3 separate regions of the Homo sapiens genome follow, and all the other regions are linked to region 1. Evidence: promoter capture Hi-C in 16 types of primary human blood cells and fetal thymus (Javierre and others, 2016). All regions are on one chromosome and are shown on one strand. The core of a region is centred on a gene start or on the middle of the fragment in contact, and the rest is flanking DNA. Distances in the headings are between cores, read along the strand shown. Region 1 holds the start of KRT31 (keratin 31). Region 2 has its middle 4.9 kb from the start of KRTAP4-6. Region 3 holds the start of LOC124904002 (a long non-coding RNA gene).

Region 1 (3,463 bases), core at 932-3,431:
TTGGGTCCTGAGGGGCCACGTGCTTAGATGCCCACCTGCGTGGTGAACCATTGCTCCACTTCCCTGCGGTTGGTTTCCACCAGGGCCTCATACTGACTCCTGGTCTCGTTCAGCACCCGATTCAGGTCCACAGTGGGAGCAGCATCCACCTCCACATTGAGGCGGTCTCCAAGCTGGCAGCGCAGGGTATTGACCTCCTATGGATGCAGAAAATACAAGAGTTACTATGCTCAGCAAAGAATGAACTCTAAGGAATGGCATTGCTTGTTGAAACCCTGTTAGTCTATTTTCTCGGAAAAGAAACTTTGAGTGGAGCAGTTTGTGACAGCTCAAGGCACTCCATGTGGCATAGCCCCCTCCCCACCATCTGCTGTGCCATGGCACTTGGCTTCAGAAAAAAATCCCAAAAGTTTGCTTGGATGCCACTGAAGGATGAACTAATTGATATTCAACTTTCCCAGTTTACAATTGGCTGTGAGGACCTCAGAATGCCAAAAAAAATAGGCTGTGCAATTTCAGACCATATATCAAAAAACTCTTGCTGTCAAGTAAGAGGTAAGAGCATGTCATGGCCCCTCCCAAGAGAGAGGAAGAATCTCACAAACACTCTTCACCAATACTTTGAAAGAGTAGAGACTCACATTTATAAGGTTTGATATTTTTTTTCTTGGCCTTTGCCAAAAAAAAAAAAAAAAGACTTTACAAAGCAATAACACTGCAATGCTAGGACTCATTCTACAACTATTGATCAACTGCAAGCACATGGAGCTGCTCCGGGCAACTCAAATAATGTGCTAGTTTAAAGTGAAAGATGTTTCCTGTCTGGGAACATGAACAGGTCTTATCTCTCTCCAATTTTTCTCTTACCGTGATGTTTTCAAAGGAAACCCTCAGTCTTGTACTCATACTCTGCATTCTGCTGCCCCAAATCACTAAAGCAACCCTGAGCCAGAGGCTGAGACAGGTTTGTGCATTTCTCATTTCTAGTCTCACCTGCTCATGGTTGCTCTTGAGGCAGAGCAGCTCCTCCTTCAGGGACTCCACCTGGGCCTCCAGGTCGGACTTGCACAGGGTCAGCTCATCCAGGATCCTGCGCAGACCGTTGATGTCCGACTCCACCAGCTGCCGCAGGGACAGCTCGGTCTGGTACCTGCGCAAGGACAGGGTCAGAGTACTACCTGGTAGATCTTCAAGACTCACAGGAATGATTTTTGATAACCTCATGTGCCTTATCTTTCCACTTTCTGTAATGAATAGGCCCAGGAGACAGAGGTTTCTGGAGGCTCCATCAATACCCAATATTCATCCCAAAACAAACAGATTGATGTGAGTCCTCATCCATTTTTGCATTTCTTTGCTTGGTTCTCCCCAGTCCTCTGCAGAATCCTTCACAACAAGTGGGTAGATCTGTTTTCAGATGGAAATCCCTTTTCTTTAAAGATTAAACAGAAGCAATTGACACTAGTGCAAATTCCGAACAACTCACTTGGTTCTGAAATCATCCGCAGCCAGCTTGGCGTTGTCGATCTGCACCACAAGCCTGGCATTCTCAGACTTGGTACACAGGATCTGGGGAGTGAGAGGTGGCTTAGTGAGGACTGAAAATAAATATGAAATCATCAACTTTTTAAAAATGACTTAAGCCATTTTGAAATAAAAGAGGAAGCAAGAATTATGACAGCACAGAAGCAAGAAACACACTTCTCTATCACAGACAGAATCACAGCAAACTCTCTTGCTTGGAGATGACAGCAATGCCGCTCACCTTCTGCTGGAGCTCCTCAATGGTCTTAAAATAGGACTGGTAACTGGGGCACAGCAAGGGCTCCTGCTGCTGAGACCGCTCCCGGATGAGGTTCTCCAGCTCCGCGTTGTCCCGCTCCAGCTGACGCACTTTCTCCAGGTAGCTGGCCAGGCGGTCGTTCAGGAACTGCATAGTCTCCTTCTCGCTACCATTGAAGGAGCCCTCGCAGAACCAGTTGCAGTTGCTCACATTGGCGGGGATGTTGCAGGCCCCGGGCAGGGTGCAGCTGTGGCAGCTGGGGGGCACGCAGGGCCGGGAGGAGCAGCTGGTGCGGCAGCTCAGGCTGGGCAGGCAGAAGTTGTAGGGCATAGTGCTGGGAGGGAGGGAGGGAGTGCCTGGCTGAAGACAGAGTCTAAATTCTCCAAGCCACAGAGCTGTGGGTCTCCTTCCTCTAGGGAGCATTTATATCCCACTGCAGAGGGTGTGGACACAGTATGTAATGTCTTTTTTCTTTTTATTTCTTCACTTCTTTTCAAACGCCCTTTCCTTCAGTCTGTTATTTGCCTTCCTCTGAAGAGTCCCTTCTCCCATAAAATTCTTTACTTGGGCTTCTTGCTAAGTCAGGACTCCTCCGCAGACAGTCCACCCATGAAATCAGAGTTCTGTGGTAGGCCTTCAAAGAGGCTACACAGTCCAGCCCAAGTATCTGCCCTCATTAATTGAGGTGTTGATCCATCCGATGACATTCTTTTGTGTCACATAATTCTGCAGGCCCATAAACATACTCATGTCCTGGTCCACCTGCCGTTTCTAGGGAGAAACACGGATTGATTTGAGGAAGAAGTTGCATTAAGAGGCCACAGTGGACTGTCTTTCCCTCTGCATTTAGAGAAGAATCTTCAAATGATGGAGCATTCTGTGCCTTGGAAGCCTTAAGGTGGATGATTAGAATCAATGGAGGACACGACTGAAAAGATTAGACAGCGATTTGTGTTTTACGGGTCCGTGTAATACTTCCCCCCCACCACCACATATTACTTAAGAAAATTGTAGAGGAGAGAATTTTAAAGGTAGAGGCTTTGATAACTAGTTGGAGAACAAGAAGTTTCTGGGGTAAGAGATCGTTTTGAAAGAGGCTGAAAAGTGCAAACCGAGAGAGCCATAAAAAACACATTTAAGGCTGGGCACAATGGCTCACGCCTGTAATCTCAATACTTTGGGAGGCCGAGGCCGGCGGATCACGAGGTCTAGAGATAGAGACCATCCTGGCCAACATAGTGAAACCCATCTCTACTAAAAATACAAAAAAATTAGCTGGGCATGGTGGCACCCACCTGTAGTCCCAGCTACTCGGGAAGCTGAGGCAGGAGAATCACTTGAACCTGGGAGGTGAAGGTTGCAGTAAGCCGAGATGGTGCCACTGCACTCCAGCCTGGTGACAGAGCAAGACTCCATCTCAAAATACAAAACAAAACAAAAAAAATGCATTTAAATAATCTAGGAAAGATATTCAGGGGCAGAGAGAAAGGAATAAGGAGGTCTTTGTCAAACATTTCCTAAGGTTATCCATAGTATCCGAACAGAGTAGATGGATATGTTAGGAAAGTCAGGAGATAGCCCAAAGGGGCCTCCACGGCCTGAAATCACTTGTAGTTGATCTTTAAACTTCATATGAATTGACCCTATATTCCATAATATATCCATGTTGGCTTTAATCTT
Region 2 (3,481 bases), core at 879-3,378, 260 kb before region 1:
ATGCCAAGCCTAAAATATGTAAAGAGGCAGCTTTAGGCTAAACTTAATTTAACAATTCTTAGTATAATAAGAGTGAGGAGTTTGGGTCTTTTGGAGGAAATGCTGAAGTATATAATAAAATTTACTTCATAGGAGCATCTACTATAAAAACCCTTTAAAAATATTTCTAACACAGGAAATCTTTCATCTCCTTGGGTCTCTGAAAATAAAGAACTTCTGGCAATGTAGCTGACTGAGTTGATACTGACAGACCCACTTCCTGGTATGAGTAAGTATAAATTCTTCAAAGATTTTTTAAAAAATTCAATCGTAGTTGAACTTGAGAAAAGTAGAGAAAAATTCTCATTTGTCAGAAACTAAGAGGGAACTCAAATGGCAAACACTAGCTGATGTCCTGTGGCCTGTGGGAAGGTTTGGCATCCAGTTAGATGCCCTCAGAACTGGAGGCTGGTGGTTAAAACTCAGGCAGGTACAAGAAATGGGACCTGAAACTATCACCAGGCAGGATCTAGGAAGTAAGACCCTTATATAAAGTTTATATTCTTAAGAACGCTGTTTGGGCAGATTGTTCTCATGATGCCAAGATCCCTTTGATGTCAAAAGAGAAGAATGTAAACTTAAGGTTTACATTCTGAAAGCATTTTTGTGCATAAGATGGAGACAAGAAAACCTTAGTCTGCCTACAGGAATTTTATGTGGTAATAAAGTCATGAACAACTAAACCATGCAATATCACCAAGCTTCTTAATTCACACTGTATGCATAGTGGAGGAACCTCAAGGTGAGAAACTGCTGATACTAAATAGTGCATGTCCTTGAAATAATCAGAAACAAAAGCAAAAGGAATAGCACACAGAAAGAACACCCCAAAAAGAAAAAAATATAAAAATAAAAAAGCATTAAGCACAAGGAAAAATAAACCTCTAAGAAACCACACACAGATTGCATGGGATCCCCCACAGGGGTCAATTTCTGCATAAGATAAATGCATAGGCAAATATTACAAAATATGTAAGAAAATAATTTATCATGAGTAGTATAGTAGACACAGGAAAAGGGAATATAACCCCTGGGAATTGAGATAACTGAAAATTCTGAAGGAGACTATATATAAATGGGTTTAAAAGGTAAACAAAAAATGGAAATCGGGGGGTTGGGGGCAAGGGGAGGGAGAGCATTAGGACAAATACCTAATGCATGTGGGGCTTAAAACCTAGATGATGGGCAGGGTGCAGTGGCTCATGCCTGTAATCCCAGCACTTTGGGAGGCTGAGATGGGCAGATCACGAGGTCAGGAGATCGAGATCATCCTGGCAAACATGGTGAAACCCCGTCTGTACCAAAAATACAAAAATTATCTGGGCATGGCTGTGTGCACCTATAGTCCCAGCCACTTGGGAGGCTGAAGCGGGAGAACTGCTTGAACCCAGGAAGTGGAGGTTGCGGTGAGCTGAGATCGGGCCACTGCACTCCAGCCTGGTGATAGAGCAAGACTCTGTCTCAAAAAAAAAAAAAAAAAAACACCTAGGCGATGGGTTGATGAGTGCAGCAAACCACCATGGCACGTGTATACCTATGTAACAAACCTGCACGTTCTGCACATGTATCTCAGAACTTAAAGTATATTAAATAAAAATTTAAAAATGAAAATCATAATGAAGAAATGGAATATAGAAAATGACTGATTTGGAAAAGAACAATGTAGAATTACCCTTTGTTGGGACCATCCTTCCTATCACTTTCCTTTTACTTGAAGCCTTTCTTTTGTTTTTTGTTTTTGTTTTTATTTTTATTTTTTGAAACAGAGTCTTGCTCTGTCGCCCAGCCTGGAGTGCAGTAGTGCAATCTCAGCTCACTGCAACCTCTGCCTCCTGGGTTCAAGCAATCCTTCCACCTCAGTCTCCTGAGTAGCTGGGATTACAGGCGCCTGCCACCATGCCCAGCTAAGTTTTGTATTTTTACTAGAGATGGGGTTTCTCCATGTTGGTCAGGCTGGTCTCCAACTCCTGACCTCAAAGTGACCCACCCACCTCGGCCTCCCAAACTGCTGGGATTACAGACGTTAGCCACAGCTCCTGGCCTAGTCTTTTTCTTTTGGCAAAGTTTTCTGTTAACCTATTCTCTCATTTCTGTTTTCCTGAAAATAACTTAATTTCATTATCTTTTTTGTTTCTCTGGGCATATAATTCTCTATCGGCAGTGTTTCCCTTCACAAGATGTCTCTTCATCGTCTTCTCACTTCCATTATTTCAGTTGAGTTTTAGGCTTCCTGTTCTTTTTGTAAAAGTGTATGTTGTTTTTTCCCCTGTTGCTTTTACTTATTTTATTATTTTATTATAAAATTATATATATATAATTTAAGGTGTACAATACAATGTTTTGATATACATTGTAAAATGATTACTAAAGGCAAGATAATCAACATATTCATTGCCTCACATAGTTAGTTGCCTTTGTGTGTGTGTGTGTGTGCATGTGTGTGTGTGTGAAAACACTTAACATCTACTCTCTTAGCAAGTTTCAAGCATACAGTACAGTATTATTAACTGTAGTCACCATGCTGTACATTAAATTTTTAGAATTTATTCATTCTACATAACTGGAACCTTGTACCCTTTGACAGATATCTTCTAATTTCCCTCACCTTCCTGCCCCTAATAACCACCATTCTACTCTCTGCTTTTGTGAGTTTCACTTTTTTTAAGGTTCCACATATAAGTGACATCATGCAGTACTTTTCCTTCCGTGTTTGCCTTATTTCACTTAACATAGTATCCTCCAGGCTCATCCATCTTGTCACAAATGGCAGAATTTCCTTTTTTAAAGCTGAATAATATTTCTTTATATGTATGCTTTAACATATATTAATATTATTATATATGATGTGTGTGTGTATGTGTGTGTGTGTGTGTATATATATGTGTGTATATATATATATATATATCTCCATTCATCCTTTAATGGACACATACTGAATCCATATCCTGGCTATTGAGAATAATGTTGCAGTAAACATGAGGTGCAGATAACTCCAGGATACTGATTTTTTACCTTCAGATATATACCTAGAAGTGGAATTGCTAGATTTTATATGGCAGACCTATTGTAATTTTCAAAGAAACTTCCATACTGTTTTCTATAATGGCTGTATCCATTTCTTGTTACGTTTATGATTTTCTTTTTATCTTTGGTTTTCAACAACTTTCCTTGATGTGCCTACATGTTGTTTTTCTTTTTATTCACTCTGCTTGGGTTCAGAGATGTTCTAGAATCTGTGACTGGAGGTCTGTCATCAATTGTCTCAAATTGCCATCCAGTATCTCTTTGTTTATAACTTCTCCATTCTCTCTTCTCTCTTTCTGGGACTCCAATTTACATGTATGTTAGACTTTTCACTATGCTCCAAGTGTGTCTTATGCTATTTTCTCCATTTTAAAACTTTTCTTCTCTCTGCATTCCAATGTGAATATTTTCTACTTCC
Region 3 (3,173 bases), core at 164-2,663, 290 kb before region 1:
CTTTATGGCTCAAATCAATAGGACAATTTGCTGAGGTCTGGGAGCACCCTCCCCAAAGAATCCCTGATCTCCCCAAATTTGGTGAAGAACTAAAGTTCATTTTGCTGTACAACTGCCCCACCTATTTTTGTTTTTGGAGTTTTACTTGCTTACTTGCCTTCCTTATAAGGAAGGCAAGATTTACTTTTACTTCCTTTACAAGGAAGGCAAGATTTCCTGCTTCCATGATGATGAAAGGCATGTAGAGTTTGAGCTCACTCCCAGCAGGGAAGACCAGTTTGAGTTTTTTTCCTGCTTCTAGGGTGGTAGAAAGCAGCCTTCAGCCTGAGACCCATCCCTAGGTAAGTAGCTGAACTGGGGCTTTGTCTGGGCTAAAGTTTAACAACCAGCTAGCTGCTCTTAATTTCTCCTTATCATTAGAGTGCTTGGTAATCCTATGGTTGGAGATTTTGTTGTTTGTTTTGGTCTTTCTCCCATCAGACTTGACCAACTCTACCTGACTTGGTCAAATCCAAGTGAGAATTCAAAATTACGGGTAACAAAACCTCTCTAATTTGGCTAAAATTCATTGCAGCTGCAAAAGAAGAAAACAAACAAAAAGAACCAAAAACCCATGCACTTGGTTTCTGTGTTTGCTTCCTGTCTTAAAACACGAATGTTCTTTCGTTTACTTTTCTTGCACCATATACCTCCTCCCCCTTTGCCATATGCAGTACCAAAAAGTCTAGAGAAGGCTTCTAATGACTTGAACCCCCTTAAAGAATTCAGAACAAAGGTTGCCACTCACCCCTTTTGGGGTGTTTTGTTTTCTTTGTGGAGTTTCAAGAGTCATGGGTAGATTCTTCTTAACTCTAAACCTCTATTTTCCTGTATTGCATGACCTGACCTCTTTGGCTTTGACCTTGTTGTGTATAGTGGTAGATGAGAGCTACAAAGTTAAGGGGTGGCTGAGCAAGGTTTACAAAAAGTGGTCTTGGCTGTTGTTTTGTTTTCCTTCTAGGAATTTGTCGTTTAAAGATCCTAATTCTAGTTCACAAATGCATTCTAAAGGATCTTCTCTGTTGCTTTTTCTCCCCAAATTAAGCTCAATTCAGCTTGTCTGTGTGCATTTGCATGAGGAACTGAACTGTTGTTTTCAGTGGTGACCCACTGTGGAGTCCTGCCCACAAATGGCACATATTGATCCACCACAGAAAACCTCTAGGCCTCAGCTCAGTTCCTCTTTTTAAGAAGAAAACTGGGAAACAAATAATCTAAGAATGAGGAGAAAGCAAAGAGAATGATTCCCTTTCAAGCACTCCATAGGTTTTATGGCACCTGTACTTGCCAGAGTTTAAGTAAAATGGAAGTAATATGGTCTTTGTGCATATTTACATTAAGAAAGAAAGGGCCCATGTAAATTAGTTCAACCATTGTGGAAGACAGTATGGTGATTCCTCAAGGATCTAGAATCAGAAATACCATTTGATCCAGCAATCCCATTACTTGTTATATACCCAAAGGAATACAAATCATTCTACTATAAAGACACAGGCACATGTATGTTTATTGCAGCACTATTTACAAGAGCAAAGACATGGAACTAACCCAAACGCCCATCAATTATAGACTTGATAAAGAAAATGTGGTACATATACACCATGGAATACGATGCAGCCATAAAACGGAGTGAGATCATGTCCTTTGTAGGGACATGGATGAAGCTGGAAACCATCATCCTCAGCAAACTAACACAGAAACAGAATACCAAATACAACATGTTCTCACTCATATATGGGAGTTGAACTTTGAGAACACATGGACACAGAGAGGAGAGCAACACATATCAGGGGCTGTTGGGGGGTGGGGAATGAGAGGAGGGAATTTAGAGGATGGGTCAATAGGTGCAGCAAACCACCAAGGCACACATATACCTATGTAACAAACCTGCACGTTCTCCTGCATGTGTATTTCATTTTTTTTTAGAAGAGAAAGAAAAGAAGGAAAGAAAGCAAGCAAGCAAGAAAGCAAGCAAGCAAGAAAGAAAGAAAGAAAGAAAGAAAGAAAGAAAGAAAGAAAGAAAGAAAGAAAGAAAGAAAAGAAAAAGAAAGAAAAGAAGAGCCTTAAGGTCAACCTACAAACTACAGAGTTCCTAAGTTCTCTTTTTTCTCTATTTTCTTTTCTGCCTGCTTTAAATCTGCTGTTATTTTTCTATTAAGATCAAAACCACTGTTTGGATACAACAGGCTTTTTGTTTGCAACCTGGTGAATTTGTATTTGTCTCATGGCTAAAGTTCTGAAGTAAAAGCTATAGGATTTCTGTGTGTGTGTTTGTGTGTGTGTGTGTGTGTGTGTGTGTATCTATTTAAAAGGCCTTTATAATTTTTATAATTTTATGTTTAATTGGCAATTAAATCCATTTTGACTTCCCTCTAGCACCACCAGACTTTTTCTCTCTGTACCTTATGATATAATTTTGCTATTTGATTTTTGCCTGAGTTGTTTCCTTTAACATGCAAACTTAAGGCTATTTAGCTGACAACTCCCTAGGGGAGTAAAACAGGTTATTAAGAATTTGAAAGCCTAAGATAGGGGAAAAAAGCTCCTTAAGTATCTATACGATGTACTTCTATCAGCATGCCTACTATGTCTATATATTTATGTGATGTGTACACAATTTCTCGCTACTGAAAATATATAAAAGAGTTCTAATTAATTGGCTTAAGATAAAAAGCACTTGAATCTAATACTTTATCAGGAAAAAAGAAAAGACTAGTTGAATGCTTTCTGAAGTTTATGTAACAAGTAAAATCTTTAATAAATAAGCTAGCTTTAAAATTATTGGTAAAGTAATATTAGACATGTCTTAAAAATTGCCAGCATGCATTTTTGTTTGCATTTATTAATCAAGCAATTTCATGCTTATCCCTGTCAAATACCATAAGGTGTCAAAATTTGCCATGGAGTTACAAAACTGTAATAGAATGATCTTTGCTTGTATAATCTTTAATAAATAAGACATTGATATTGGTTTAATAAAAATAGTCACATCTTGAATTTAGTGAGATTACTGTAACTTCTAATTTTGTGGTTTTGGTGGTCTAGTCCACAGGCAGTAAGATTTAGTTTGAGAATGAACTGTTATAATCTTTGTTTCAAAGGTAAACTATAAACTATGTTCCTCTCAACGTCTG

Evidence for each region. The method cuts DNA at HindIII sites, captures the fragments that hold promoters and counts their contacts. A CHiCAGO score of 5 or more calls a contact.
Region 2: a contact is called between a fragment that was not itself captured here and the fragment with the promoter of KRT31 in region 1, in 2 of 17 cell types (total CD8 T cells and total CD4 T cells). The highest score is 5.3, in total CD8 T cells.
Region 3: a contact is called between a fragment that was not itself captured here and the fragment with the promoter of KRT31 in region 1, in 1 of 17 cell types (total CD4 T cells). The highest score is 6.1, in total CD4 T cells.

The regions. Positions count from the first base shown.
Region 1 is chr17:41,395,427-41,398,889 of GRCh38, forward strand. It overlaps KRT31 (keratin 31), which reads right to left and starts at 2,182. Exons shown (of 7, transcript NM_002277.3): 1 at 1,766-2,182; 2 at 1,487-1,569; 3 at 994-1,150; 4 at 36-197. The coding sequence starts at 2,113. The HindIII fragment of the contact is 10,261 bases long and covers 1-3,463 here.
Region 2 is chr17:41,133,879-41,137,359 of GRCh38, forward strand. No RefSeq gene overlaps it. Among named protein-coding and RNA genes, the nearest start is that of KRTAP4-6, 4.9 kb to the right of the region's middle. The HindIII fragment of the contact is 2,780 bases long and covers 739-3,481 here.
Region 3 is chr17:41,108,039-41,111,211 of GRCh38, forward strand. It overlaps LOC124904002 (a long non-coding RNA gene), which reads left to right and starts at 194. Exons shown (of 2, transcript XR_007065754.1): 1 at 194-341; 2 at 1,966-3,173. The HindIII fragment of the contact is 4,149 bases long and covers 1-3,173 here.